5 separate regions of the Homo sapiens genome follow, and regions 1, 3, 4 and 5 are each linked to region 2. The links are contacts of gene promoters, found by promoter capture Hi-C in human tissues and cell types (Jung and others, 2019). All regions are on one chromosome and are shown on one strand. The core of a region is centred on a gene start or on the middle of the fragment in contact, and the rest is flanking DNA. Distances in the headings are between cores, read along the strand shown.

Region 1 (2,700 bases), core at 166-2,665, 630 kb before region 2:
GGGTGTGGGTTCTGTCTTTGAAGTAATCTTTTGTTGGAAAGAGAATTCCAGAGGTGCCTGGTACCTAACAAGATCCAACCCCTGAAGCTTCTAAGGAAATATATGACCAAATAAGAGAGCATGGTGTGTGCTTAATAAGTATTTAGGTAAATAAATGTGCACAGGCCAGGCGTGGTGGCTCACGCCTGTAATCCTAACACTTTGGGAGGCCGAGGCCGGCGGATTGCCTGAGCTCAGGAGTTCACGACCAGCCTGGGCAACATGGTGAAACCCTGTCTCTACTAAAATACAAAAAAATTAGCTGGGCATGGCAGCGTGCACCTGTAGTCCAGTGTGCTACTCGGGAGGCTGAGGCAGGAGAATTGCTTCAACTTGGGAGGCGGAGGTTGCAGTGAGCCAAGATTGAGCCACTACAGTCTGTCCTGGGTGACAGAGTGAGACTCCGTCTCCAAAAAAATAAAATAAAAATAAATGTGCATAAGGCATGGCAGTGTAGTATGGGAAAGGAAAGGGAGTGGAAGTTCACAGCACATTCTGAGGCTGTATTTTAAGATGAGAGGTAACATCTATGCAGTTTATCTCGAAGTTATTATCTTGAGATCAGGAGGGGAAAGAGGAAAAGGGAAAGAAGAAGAAAAAAAAGGTTTAAAACGTGGTTTGAGACTCAGCTGCTAAGCTGCTGGTTACACACTCTGGGACTCAACTTCAGGAGTCAGAATCTGCCTTCTAAGCTTGAAAATATGTTTAACCTCCTGAAAGGGGGTTTCCTGCTGAACTGTGGCTGAAATTTCTCTGAACTAATTCAGGTTTTTTCTTTTCCCTTCTTTTGATTCCTTTATAGAAGATTACTGCCATATAATTCCAGATTTTCCATGCATTTAACAATTTTATTTCATTGTTGATGTGTTTTTATTTTCTGGTCTGAGAATGAGTAGATTGGGAGATAAGGTGGGAGAAAGGCTTGACCATGGAGCCAGCAGTCTCATCCTAAATTCCTGATCCCTGGAGGACACCAGGCCTTCCCTCCTGCTTCAGTGTGGTTTGTGTGGCCTGGGCCTCCCCTACCGCTCTGAGGCCAGGGGATGGCTCCACTGGGCAGTGAGTCTCGAATTCCCAGCACACACTTGTGGGTCCCCGTCCAGGAAGAAGGAGCAGGAAGAGCCCATTGAGTACAGGCAGGAAATTCCGCTTAAATGCAAATGTCCCCTGGGAGGGGTCAGGTCACAGCGAAGGGAGGAAGCCCACCCTATCAAGGGCTGTGTCTGGAACCGCTTCATCTCGCTCCACTCAGCCGTGTAAGATCCTTCTTCTGTCAATCAGTTCCCTGGGGGGGCGGAATTTGGAGCTCTACCCAATCAGTGTTGGGGGCGAGTTCTTGGGAACTGCCAGTCAGGCGCGCTGCCGGGAGGAGGGTGGAGCTTTCTACACCCCTCTGAGCTCCCGCTCCTGGCTCTGTAGCTGAGAGAAGCCCTGGCAGGTCAGTGGCAGGCACTGTCACGCTGAGTCCTATGCTGGCAGCGGGGAACCTTGGGGAGAACACGGGACACCGCGGAAGCCGGGAAATGGTGAGTGTGCGGGGCCCGGCGTCCTGGGGCAGGGCGAAGGACTGGTTGGAACCGGCCAGAACCGGCTGTGGCGGGACCCGGGCGTCCCCGCGGCGACTGCGGGGTCTGTGGACCCGAGTTCCCCTGGCCCAGCCGGCCTTCAGTCCCCTCGGCCGCGGGGTGGGAGCTGGGGGCTGGGCCGGCAGCCGGGACCCCGGGCGTCCTGTCCCGTTTCTGCGCAGCAACTGCGGCCCCGGCTCCCGCGCCCTCTCTGGGGCAGCTCCATGCCCACAGCTCCGCGTCTTCCCAGATTGTGCGGCTGTAACCGGCACAGGTTCGCGGTCCGAGTCACTGCACCGAGACTCCAAGGCCTGCAGCAGAAACAGTTTAATAGGGGGAGAGGAGAGAAGACCCCAGTTCCGCCTCCATGAGAGGTTTGGGGATGGGGGTGTTTAGGGGTCTGGACAGGGGCGGCTGAAGTGTGGGGTCGCTGGTTGGTGGGGAAGTGACAGGCGAATCCTGGGACGGGAGGTGAAGAAACCGCATTCTCCTGCTGAGTGGGTTCCCTCGTGGGGTTTTCACCCTGCTTGGCGCCAGCCTTTCCGTTGGAATTCAAGATCTGAGAAAGAACTTGGGCAACTCGAGCAGCTCTCCGAGATCTTATCCCCAGGCACAATGCAGAAGCCGGCGGTCAGTGTCTTCTGTGACCTGACTCTCAGGAAGGCGGCCCCCGCGAGGCAGTGGGGCTCAGGGTACCTGGTTAATATCTAACTGCAATCAGAATCCAGATTCTTGCGTGGGGTTTGTGCACGGGAGGAGCTGTGGTCTGCGGGGTCCCCAGTCCCTTCTTTTCTTCCCAGGGTGACTGATTCCTCTTCGAGTTTTTCAGAGATGGGGGTAGCAGGGTCTCAAATCCACTACCCTGTTCCCTCATTCTAACTCCTCCTAGGGGTGGTAGTAACTCCCTTGGTTTCCAGAGCCTTACGCAGGCTAACTTTCCCTCCTCAGTTCACAGCAACATCATGAACTCCTCCCTCCTCCGCCCCACCCGTGCTAAATTTCAGAGTCCCAGTATTTTAATTTTCATTTTGTTTTCAGAGAGCAATGGATGGCTTCTTTTTTTCTTTCTTTCTTTTTTTTTTTTTTGAGATGGAGT
Region 2 (2,700 bases), core at 87-2,586:
CTATTTAGCCATGGCTACCAGCTTCTAGTTCATAACGCTTTTTTTTTTTTTTTTTTGAGATGGAGTTTTTTTTTTTCCTCGCTCTGTTGCCCAGGCTGGAGTGCAGTGGTGTGATGTCGGCTCACTGCAACCTCTGCCTGCCGGGTTCAAGCGATACTCCTGCCTCAGCTTCCTGAGGAGCCGGGATTACAGGAGCGTGCCACCACACCCGGCTAATTTTGCGTTTTTAGTAGAAACGGGGTTTCATCATGTTTGTCAGGCTGGTCTCAAACTCCCGACCTCAGGTGATCCACCCGCCTCAGCCTCCCAAAGTGCTGGGATTACAGGCGTGAGCCACCGCGCCCGGCCATAACGCTTTTAAGTCTAGTATTTTTACTTCATAAACATATGGAGAAAGGCTAATGTTTTCAAATTCAAAGTGTGATGTCTTGGCTTTTGATTGGAGCGTTTAATTCATTAACATTTAATGGCATAAGGAGGGAGCATTTCCACGCTGTGCAGAGGGGACAGGTATTTTGAGACCTCAGAGTAAAATTCTTAATTGTCCCTCCCTTATCACCAGCTTCTGATCCACCCCGGAGCTCCATTTTAGGAATCATTGCCTGGCTTCCCAGCTTGGGGATATGTTTGACCTCCTGAAAGGGGGTCTGCTTGTGAACTGTGAGTGCAGTAGGCTGCTTCTCTGAGCTTGTTCAAGTTTTTGCTTTTCTTCTCTTTTGATTCTTTATGAAATATTGCTGCCATATAATTCCAGTTTTTCCACATACTCAACTATTTTATTTTGTTGTCCTGTTTTTATCTTCTGGGCTGAAAATGAGTAGATTGAGAGATAAGGTGAGGGAAAGGCTTGGCAACGTCGCCAACAGCCTCATCCCAAATTCCTGATCCCTGGAGGACATCAGGCCCTCCCTCCTGCTGCAGGGTGGCCTGTGTGCCCCGGGCTCCCCTCCTGCTCCGAGGTCCGGGAATGGCTCCACTGGACAGGGAGCCTGGAATTCCCTGCACACACTTGTGAGTCCCTGTCCAGGAGGAAAAAGCAGGAAGAACCCACTGAATACAATCAGGAAATTCTAAAATGCAAACGTCACTTCGGGAGGGGTCAGGTCACTCCGTTGGGAGGAAGCCCGCCTTGCCAAGGGTCGTGCCTGGAACCTGTTCATCCGGCTCCACTCAGCACTGTGAGATCGCTTCTTCTGTCAATCAGCCACCAAGGGGCGGGACCTGGAGCACTATCCAATCAGGGATGAGGGGGCGGGGATTGTGAGAACTGTCAATCAGGCACGCTGCAGGGAGGAGGGTGCGACGTTCAAAGAGCCCGCGGAGTCTTCTCCACGCCCCTGCGCTCTGAGTCCTGGCTCTGGCGCTGAGAGAGAGACGCCCTGGAAGGTCTGTATCAGCGTCTGTCGCGCTGGGACCCACACTGGCTTTTAAGGAGGACACCCGGACACCTGGAAGCTGGGAAATGGTGAGTGTGCGGGGCCCGGCGTCCCGAGGCAAAGAAGGGGCAGGTTGGAACCGGCCGGAACCGACCGTGAGGGGACCCGGGCCTCGCCCTGGGCGACTCCGGGGTCTGCAAATCCCAGTGCCCCTGGCGCAGCTCTGCCCTTGGTCCCCTGGGCCGCAAGATGGGGCTGGGGCGGCAGCCGGGACCCCGGGCGTCCTGTCCCGTCCCTGCTCGGCCGCTGCGGCCCCGGCCCCGGCGCCCTCTCTGGGCAGCTCCGCGCCCGCAGCTCCGCGTCTCCCCAGATTGTGCAGTTGTAACCGGCACAGGTTCACGGCCCGAGTCACTGCACCGAGACGCCGAAGGCTGCAGCAGAAACAGTTTAATGGGGGAGAGGGGAGGACACCCCAGATCCGCCTCCCTGAGAGGTTTGGGGATGGGGTGTTTAGAGGTGTGGACAGGGACGGCTGGAGTGTGGGGTCGCTGGTTGGTGGAGAAGTGAGAGGTGACTCCTGGGACTGGAGGTGAAGAAACCGCATTCTGCTGAGTGGGTTCCCTTGTGGGGTCTTCAGCCTGGTTGGCGCCAGCCTTTCCGCTGCAATTCAGGATCCGAGAAAGAACTGAGGCGACCCGTGAGCAACTCTCAAGAGATCTTATCCCCGGGCACGATGAGGAAGCCGGCGGTCAGCGTCTGCTGTGACCTGACTCTCAGGGAGGCGGCCCCGTGAGGCAGCGGGGCTGAGGGCACCTGGTTAATATCTAACTGCAATCTCGCCTCCAGCCTGGCTCGCAGTTCCTGTGAACCCGGTGAGGACGCTGCACGGTGACAACGGAGGGTCACCAGGCAGAATCCAGACTCGTGTGTGTGGGCTTTGTGCTTTGGAAGAGAAGCTGTGATCTGTGGGTTCCCCAGTCCCTTCTTTCTTCCCAAAGGTGACCGGTTTCCCTCCGAGTCTTCCAAAGATGTGGGCAGCAGGGTCTCAAATCCACCACCCTATCCCCTCATCCTAACTCCTCCTAGGGCTGGCAGCAAATCTCTTGGTTTTCAGAGCCTTCCCCAGGCTAACTGTCTCTCATCAATTCCCAGCAACTTTATGAACTCTTTGTCCCTCAGGCAATATTTCAAACAGAGGCATTATTTTAATTGTCACTTTCTTTTCACATAGCAATGTATGGCTCTTTTTAAAAGATGTGTTTTTGTGTTTGTGAACATTTCACATGTGAGGAAGCAAAGAATAACCACTTGACTCCAGTGTGAA
Region 3 (2,700 bases), core at 17-2,516, 550 kb before region 2:
GAAACCCCATCTCTACTAAAAATACAAAAAATTAGCCAGGCGTGGTGGCACATGCCTGTAGTCCCAGCTACTCGGGAGGCTGAGGCAGGAGAATCCCTTGAACCCAGGAGGCGGAGGCTGCAGTGGGTGACAGAGCGAGATTCCGTCTCAAGGAAAAAAAAAGAAGAATGTGTATATATGTGGACAGTGAAGACTCATGGGGATGAGGGAGGTTATTTGGTGGATAATGGGGGTTGCTCCAGGGATGGATGCACTGAAAGGCCTGACTTTACAAGGCAATATATCAATGTAGTAAAATTGCACTGGTACTCCATGAATATATATATATAATTTATACATATATGTGTATATATATATATATTATACGTGTGTGTGTGTGTGTATATATATATATAAAAGGAATGCACATTTTAGGGTATTACCCAAGGCTACTGAATTAGTAATTCTTGGAATGGGGCCCAATGATTTTTTTTTTATTTTTTATTTTTGAGACAGAGTCTTACTCTATTGCCCAGGCTGGAGTGCAGTGGTGCAATCTTGGCTCACTGCAACCTCTGCCTCAGCCTCCCGAGTAGCTGGGACTACAGGTGTGCACCACCACGCCTGGCTAATTTTTGTATTTTTAGTAGAGATGGAGTTTCACCATGTTGGCCAGGCTGGTCTCGAACTCCTGACCTCAAGAGATCCACCTGCCTCAGCCTCCCAAAGTGCTGGGATTACAGATGTGAGCCACTGCAACCAGCCCCAATGATCTGTTTTCTTTCTTTCTTTTTTTTGAGACCAAGTCTCGCTCTTTCACCCAGGCTGGAGTGCAGTAGCACAATCTCAGCTCACTGCAACCTACCTCTGCCTCCCAGGTTCAAGCAATTTTCTGCCTCAGCCTCCCGAGCAGCTAGGACTACAGGCACCCGCCACCACGCCCGGCTAATTTTTGTATTTTTAGTAGAGACGGGGTTTCATCATCTTGGCCATGCTGGTCTCGAACTCCTGACTTTGTGATCCACCCACCTCGGTCTCCCAAAGTGCTGGGATTACAGGCATGAGCCACCGCGCCCGGCCTCCAATGGCCTGTTTTTTAACAAGCCCTTCAGATGATTCTCATGCATGAGAACTAGTTCATCAGAGCAACCTGTTAAAATATAATGCAAAAAGATATCACTAAAATGTAAATATAATTAGTAACTAAATTGGAACACTAGAGAATATTGATTTGATTCAGAGACATCAAGAAAGGATGAACGGGGGAAAAACACAAAAATTGTGCTGAAAAGATTTTTGTTTTCTTTATTTGCCTCAATCTGTTTGACACATGCTAAAATCTGAGGCTATGGGTCATGCAGTTTACTCACACATTGCAGTGCTCATAGGACTTGACTTTTTTTTGAGTTTTTTTTGAGATGGAGTCTCGCTCTGTCACCCAGGCTAGAGTGCAGTGGCGTGATCTCGGCTCACTGCAAGCTCTGACCCCCGGGTTCACGCCATTCTCCTGCCTCAGCCTCCTGAGTAGCTGGGACTACAGGCGCCCGCCACCACGCCTGGCTAATTTTTTTGTATTTTTAGTAGAGATGGGGTTTCATTGTGTTCTCCAGGATGGTCTCGATCTCCTGACCTCGTGATCCGCCAGCCTCGGCCTCCCAAAGTGTTAGGATTACAGGCGTGAGCCACCGCGCCTGGCCAGGACTTGACTTTTAAGTTAATTTTTTGATGTTGTTGACAATGTTATTTTTGGTTTTGTCTCTACATGCTAACAGTTCATGAATTTTTCAACACATGGGGGAACATTGCTGGGTTATAGATTATAGACAAACTTCAGTTTACTAGGAAATCATAATAGCATGTGTGGATTAACTGTCTGACCAGGCCGGGTGCTGTGGCTCACGCCTGTTGTCCCAGCACTTTGGGAAGCCTTGGTGGGTGGATCACCTGAGGTCAGGAGTTTGAGATTAGCCTGGCCAACATGGTGAAACACCATTTCTACTAAAAGCACAAAATATCCGGACGTGGTGGCGGGCGCCTGTAATCCCAGCTACTCGGGAGGCTGAGCCAGGAGAATTGCTTGGACCCGGGAGGTGGAGGTTGCAGTGAGCCGAGATCGCGTCTTTGCACTCCAGCCTGGGCAACAAGAGTGAAAATCTGTCTCAAAAAACAAACAAACAAACAATGCATACATGTCTGTTTATACATTTTTTTCAGGCTTAATTTACTTTATTTTTCTTGTATGAAAGCCCTATGTTGTAGCCACAGCTGGAGCCTGGGTCCTCTGCACAGAGACTCTGGTGTGGGTCTTAACGAGGTGGTCAGTGAATTCCTGATAGGGAGACTTGGTGAATACAGTCTCCTTCCAGAGGTCAGGGGTTAGGTAGCTGTAGGTCTTAGAGATGACATCAAAGGTGGCCTTGGCGAAGTTGCCCAGGATGGCAGTGCAGCCCCGGGCTGAGGTGTATCAGTCACTGATACCAGCCATCATGAGCAGCTTCTTGGGCACAGGCGCTGAGACGATGCCAGTGTCCCTGGGTGCGGGGATGAGGCGCACCAGCACAGAGCCGCAGTGGCCTGTCACCTTGCAAGGGACGGTGTGGGGCTTGCCGATCTTGTTCCCCCAGTAGCCTCTGCGCACGAGGACAGTGGAGAGCTTGGCCAGGATGATGGCCCCGCGGATGGCAGTGGCTGCCTCCTTGGAGCACTTAACTCCCAGACGGA
Region 4 (2,700 bases), core at 31-2,530, 700 kb before region 2:
TGCCCACTTTTACCACTGTTGTTCAACACAGTACTTGAAGTCCCAGCTAGAGCAATAAGACAAAAAAAAAAAAAAGAAAAAAAAAGAAATAAAGGGCATCCATATTGGGAAGGAAGAAGTCAAATTATCCTTGTTTGCATATAATATGATCTTATATCTGGAAATACCTAAAGACTCCACCAAAAAAGTATTAGAACTGAGAAATAAATTCAGTAAAGTTGCAGTATACAATATCAACACACAAAAATCAATAACATTTTTATATGCCAACAGTGAACAATCTGAAGCTACTTGAGAGGCTGAGGTGGGAGGATTGCTTGAGCTTAGGAGGTAGAGGTTGCAGTGAGCCATGATGGCCCCACTGCACTCCAGCCTAGGTAACAGAGCAAGACCCCATCTCAAACAACCAAAAATGTGTAGAAGGATGGTTACCAGAGGCTGCGAAAAGTAGTAGCGAGGAGTAGTTATGGGGGAAGTGGGGATGGTTAATAGGTATAAAAAATAGTTACAAAGAATGAATAAGACCTAGTATTTGCTAGCACAACAGAGTGACTATAGTAAAAAATAATTTAATTGTACATTGAAAAATCTTGAAAAATTTCATTGAAAAAGAGCATAATTGGAGCCAGGCGCAGTTGCTCACGCCTCTAATCCCAGAACTTTGGGAGGCCAAGGTAGGCGGATCACGAGGTCACGAGTTTGAGACCAGCCTGGCCAACATGGTGAAACCCAGCCTCTACTGAAAAATACAAAAATTAGCCGGGTGGTGGCGCGTGCCTGTAATCCTAGCTACTCGGGAGGCTGAGGCAGGAGAATTGCTTGAACCCACCCAGGAGGCGAAGGTTGCAGTGAGCCTCGCACCATTGCACTCTAGCCTGGGCGACAGAGCAAGACTCCCTCTCGAGGAAAAAAAAAAAAAAAGATATAATTAGTTTGTCAGTCCGTGTCCAGGAGGAAGAAGCAGGAGGTCCTATTGAGTACGGGCAGGAAATTCCGCTTAAGTGCAAATATAACCCGGGAGGATTCAGATCAAAGAGCAGGGAGGAAGCCCCCCCTGCCAAGGGCTGTGTCAGGAACTTGCTCATCCGGCTCCACTCAGCTGTGCAAGATCGCTTCTTCTGTCAATCAGCCCTCAGGGGGCGGGACCTGACGCCCTATCCAATCAGGGGCGTGGGGCGGGTTCGTGGGAACTGTCAATCAGGCACTGCCCAGAGAAGTGTGTGTGGTTGAAAAAGCCCGCGGCGTCTGCTCCACCCACCTGCGCTCGGCTCTGGGTTCTGTAGCTGAGAGACGACCTGGAAGTTCTGAGGCAGCCTTTGTCTGGCTGGAACACGCATTGGCAGCGGGAGCTGTCGGTAGGACCTGGGACACCGCGGAAGTCGGGAAATGGTGCGTGTGCTGGGCCGGCGTCCCGAGGCGGGGGAGGGGTTAGGTGGAACCGGCCGTAATCGGCTGTGGCTGGACCCGGGCCTCCCCAAGGGCGACTTCGGGATCTACGGACCCGGGTCCCCCTGGCGTAGGTCGGCCCTCGGCCGCAGGGTGGGGCTGGGCATGCAGCCGGGACCCCGGGCGTCCTGTCCCGTTCCTGCGCGGCGACTGCGGCCCCGGCGCCCTCTCTGGGCAGCTCCGAGCCCGCAGCCCCGGGTCTCCCCAGATTGTGCGGCTGTAACCAACACAGGTTCGCGGCCCGACTCACTGCACCGAGACGCCGAGGGCTGCAGCAGAAACGGTTTAACAGGAGGAGAGGGGAGGACACCCCAGATCCGCCTCCCTGAGGGATTTGGGGTCTGGACGGGGGCGGCTGGGTGTAGCGTCCTTGGTTGGTGGGGAAGTGAGGGGTGAATCCTGGGACAGGAGGTGAAGAAACCGCATTCTGCTGAGAGGGCTCCCTCGTGGGGTCTTCAACCTGGTTGGCGCCAGCCTTTCTGCTGGGATTCAGGATCTGAGAACTCCGGCGACTCTTGAGCAGCACTCGGAGATCTTATCCCCAGGCACAATGGGGAAGCCGGCGGTCAGCGTCTGCTGTGACCTGACTCTCAGGGAGGCGGCCCCTTGAGGCAGCGGGGCTGAGGGCACCTGTTTAATATCTAACTGCAATCTCGCCTCCAGCCTGGCTCGCAGTTCCTGTGAACCCGGTGAGGAGGCTGCACGGTGACGACGAGTCACCAGGTGGAATCCAGACTCGTGTGTGGGGTTTGTGTGTGGGAGGAGCTGTGGTTTCCGTGGTCCTCAGTCCTTTCTTCCTTTCCAAGGGCGACCGTTTCCCCTCTGAGTCTTCCAAAGACGTGGGCAGCAGGGTCTCAAATCCACCACTGTGTTCTCTCATCCTGACTCTTCCTAGGGCTGGCAGCAAATCTCTTGGTTTCCAGAGACTTCCCCAGGCTAACCTTCTGTCCTTAATTCACAGCAACAGTATGAACTGTTTGGCCCCAGGCGATATTTCACTAGTTTGTCATCTTGTTTTCAGCTAGCAATGTATGGCTTTTTCTTGAAAGAATTGTTTTGGGTTCCTGAACACGGTGGGTCATTCCTGTAATTCCAGCACCTTGGGAGGCTAAGGCAGAGGTATTGCTTGATCCCAGTAGTTCCAGACCAGCCTGGGCAACATGGCAAGACTTTGTCTCTAGTGTAAATGATAATAATAAAATTAGCTGGGCTTGGTAGCTGGCACCTGTAGTCGCAGCTACTCCTGAGGCTGAG
Region 5 (2,700 bases), core at 156-2,655, 660 kb before region 2:
CTGAAAAAGCTTTTGATAATATTTAACATCCCTTCATGATAAAAACCCTAAAAAAAAACTGGGTATAGAAGCAGCTACCTTAACATAATAAAAGCCATATATGGCAGACCCACAGCTAGCATGATAATGAATGAGGAAAAACTGAAAGCCTTTCCTGTAAGATCTGGAACACAATAAGAATGCCCACTTTTACCACTGTTGTTCAGCACAGTACTCGAAGTCCCAGCTAGAGCAATAAGTCCAAAAAAAAAAAAAAAAAGAAATAAAGGGCATCTATATTGGGAAGGAAAGGAAGAAGTCAAATTATCCTGGTTTGCATATAATATGATCTTATATCTGGAAATACCTAAAGACTCCACCAAAAAAGTATTAGAACTGAGAAATAAATTCAGTAAAGTTGCAGGATACAATATTAACATACAAAAATCAGTAACATTTTTATATGCCAACAGTGAACAATCTGAAGCTACTTGAGAGGCTGAGGTGGGAGGATTGCTTGAGCTTGGGAGGTAGAGGTTGCAGTGAGCCATGATGGCCCCACTGCACTCCAGCCTAGGCAACAGAGCAAGACCCCATCTCAAACAACCAAAAACGTGTAGAAGGATGGTTACCACAGGCTGGGAAAAGTAGTAGCGAGGAGTAGTTATGGGGGAAGTGGGGATGGTTAATAGGTATAAAAAATAGTTACAAAGAATGAATAAGACCTAGTATTTGCTAGCACAACAGAGTGACTATAGTAAAAAATAATTTAATTGTACATTGAAATATTTTGAAAAATTTCATTGAAAAAGAGTATAATTGGAGCCAGGCGCGATGGCTCACGTCTCTAATCCCAGAACTTTGGGAGGCCAAGGTGGGCGGATCACGAGGTCAGGAGTTCGAGACCAGCCTGGCCAACATGGTGAAACCCGGCCTCTACTAAAACATACAAAAATTAGCCGGGTGTGGTGGCGCGCACCTGTAATCCCAGCTACTCGGGAGGCTGAGGCAGAATTGTTTGAACCCACCTAGGAGGCGGAGGTCGCAGTGAGCCTCGCACCATTGCACTCTAGCCTGAGCCACGGAGCAAGACTCCCTCTCTCTCTCTCTCTCTCTCTCTCTCTCTCGGAAAAAAAAAAAAAAAAAAAAAAAAAAGTATAATTGTTTTGTCAGTCAGTGTACAGGAGGAAGAAGCAGGAGGTCCTATTGAGTACAGGCAGGAAATTCCGCTTAAGTGCAAATATCCCTCGGGAGGATTCAGATCAAAGAGCAGGGAGGAAGCCCGCCCTGCCAAGGGCTGTGTCAGGAACTTGCTCATCTGGCTCCACTCAGCTGTGCAAGATCGCTTCTTCTGTCAATCAGTCCACGAGGGGCGGCACCTGACGCCGTATCCAGTAAGGGCCGTGGGGCGGGTTCGTGGGAACTGTCAATCAGGCGCGCTTCCCAGAGGAGTGTGTGGTTGAAAAAGCCCGCGGCGTCTTCTCCACCCACCTGCGCTGGGCGCTCGGTGCTCGGCTCTGTAGCTAAGAGACGACCTGGAAGTTCCGTGGCAGCCTGTGTCCCGCGGGAACCCGCATTGGCAGCGGGAGCCGTCCGGAGGACCTGGGACACCGCGGAAGTCGGGAAATGGTGCGTGTGCTGGGCCGGCGTCCCGAGGCGGGGGAGGGGCTGGGTGGAACCTGCAGTAATCGGCTGTGGCTGGACCCGGGCCTCCCCAAGGGCTACTCCGGGATCTACGGACCCGGGTTCCCCTGGCGTAGGTCGGCCCTCGGCCGCAGGGTGGGGCTGGGCATGCAGCCGGGACCCCGGGCGTCCTGTCCCGTTCCTGCGCGGCGACTGCGGCCCCGGCGCCCTCTCTGGGCAGCTCCGCGCCCGCAGCCTCGCGTCTCCCGAGATTGTGCGGCTGTAAGCAACACAGGTTCGCGGCCCGACTCACTGCACCGAGACGCTGAGGGCTGCAGCAGAAACAGTTTAATAGCCAGAGAGGGGAGGACACCCCAGATCCGCCTCCCTGAGGGATTTGGGGTCTGGACGGGGGCGGCTGGGTGTAGGGTCGTTGGTTGGTGGGGAAGTGAGGGGTGAATCCTGGGACAGGAGGTGAAGAAACCGCATTCTGCTGAATGGGCTCCCTCGTTGGGACTTCAACCTGATTGGCGCCAGCCTTTGCTGGGATTCAGGATCTGAGAACTCCGGCGACTCTTGAGCAGTTCTCAGAGATCTTATCCCCAGGCACAATGGGGAAGCCGGCGGTCAGCGTCTGCTGTGACCTGACTCTCAGGGAGGCGGCCCCTTGAGGCAGCGGGGCTGAGGGCACCTGGTTAATATCTAACTGCAATCTCGCCTCCAGCCTGGCTCGCAGTTCCTGTGAACCCGGTGAGGAGGCTGCACGGTGACGACGAGTCACCAGGTGGAATCCAGACTCGTGTGTGGGGTTTGTGTGTGGGAGGAGCTGTGGTCTCCGTGGTCCTCAGTCCCTTCTTTCTTTCCAAGGGCGACCGTTTCCCCTCTGAGTCTTCCAAAGATGTGGTTAGCAGGGTCTCAAATCCACCACTGTGTTCTCTCATCCTGACTCCTCCTAGGGCTGGCAGCAAATCTCTTGGTTTCCAGAGACTTCCCCAGGCTAACCTTCTGTCCTTAATTCACAGCAACGGTATGAACTGTTTGGCCCCCAGGCGATATTTCACTAGTTTGTCATCTTGTTTTCAGCTAGCAATGTATGGC

The links. The method cuts DNA at HindIII sites, captures the fragments that hold promoters and counts their contacts. A contact is called where the count stands out against the background at its distance.
Region 1: the fragment with the promoter of ZNF442 here is called in contact with the fragment with the promoter of ZNF823 in region 2 in 7 of the 25 tissues and cell types used here (IMR-90 fibroblasts, aorta, lymphoblastoid cells and 4 more).
Region 3: a fragment that was not itself captured here is called in contact with the fragment with the promoter of ZNF823 in region 2 in 1 of the 25 tissues and cell types used here (dorsolateral prefrontal cortex).
Region 4: a contact is called between the fragment with the promoter of ZNF443 here and the fragment with the promoter of ZNF823 in region 2, in 5 of the 25 tissues and cell types used here (IMR-90 fibroblasts, adrenal gland, aorta and 2 more).
Region 5: the fragment with the promoter of ZNF799 here is called in contact with the fragment with the promoter of ZNF823 in region 2 in 2 of the 25 tissues and cell types used here (liver and lymphoblastoid cells).

What each region holds. Positions count from the first base shown.
Region 1 is chr19:12,364,398-12,367,097 of GRCh38, reverse strand. It overlaps ZNF442 (zinc finger protein 442), which reads left to right and starts at 1,415. Exons shown (of 6, transcript NM_030824.3): 1 at 1,415-1,565; 2 at 1,855-2,296. RefSeq lists an enhancer at 1,502-1,601 and a silencer at 1,702-1,881. The HindIII fragment of the contact is 16,775 bases long and covers 410-2,700 here.
Region 2 is chr19:11,737,582-11,740,281 of GRCh38, reverse strand. ZNF823 (zinc finger protein 823) reads left to right here and starts at 1,336. Exons shown (of 4, transcript NM_001080493.4): 1 at 1,336-1,465. The coding sequence starts at 1,463. RefSeq lists silencers at 1,158-1,352, 1,613-1,762 and enhancers at 1,363-1,442, 1,833-1,962. The HindIII fragment of the contact is 18,648 bases long and covers 1-2,700 here.
Region 3 is chr19:12,284,713-12,287,412 of GRCh38, reverse strand. All of the region lies in intron 1 of ZNF44 (zinc finger protein 44), which reads left to right. It also overlaps the pseudogene RPS2P53. Among named protein-coding and RNA genes, the nearest start is that of ZNF44, 8.8 kb to the left of the region's middle. The HindIII fragment of the contact is 8,559 bases long and covers 1-2,700 here.
Region 4 is chr19:12,439,601-12,442,300 of GRCh38, reverse strand. ZNF443 (zinc finger protein 443) reads left to right here and starts at 1,280. Exons shown (of 4, transcript NM_005815.5): 1 at 1,280-1,389. The coding sequence starts at 1,387. RefSeq lists an enhancer at 832-1,101 and a silencer at 1,512-1,601. The HindIII fragment of the contact is 16,773 bases long and covers 1-2,700 here.
Region 5 is chr19:12,399,976-12,402,675 of GRCh38, reverse strand. ZNF799 (zinc finger protein 799) reads left to right here and starts at 1,405. Exons shown (of 4, transcript NM_001080821.3): 1 at 1,405-1,608. The coding sequence starts at 1,606. RefSeq lists enhancers at 1,251-1,300, 2,021-2,110 and a silencer at 1,631-1,790. The HindIII fragment of the contact is 18,323 bases long and covers 1-2,700 here.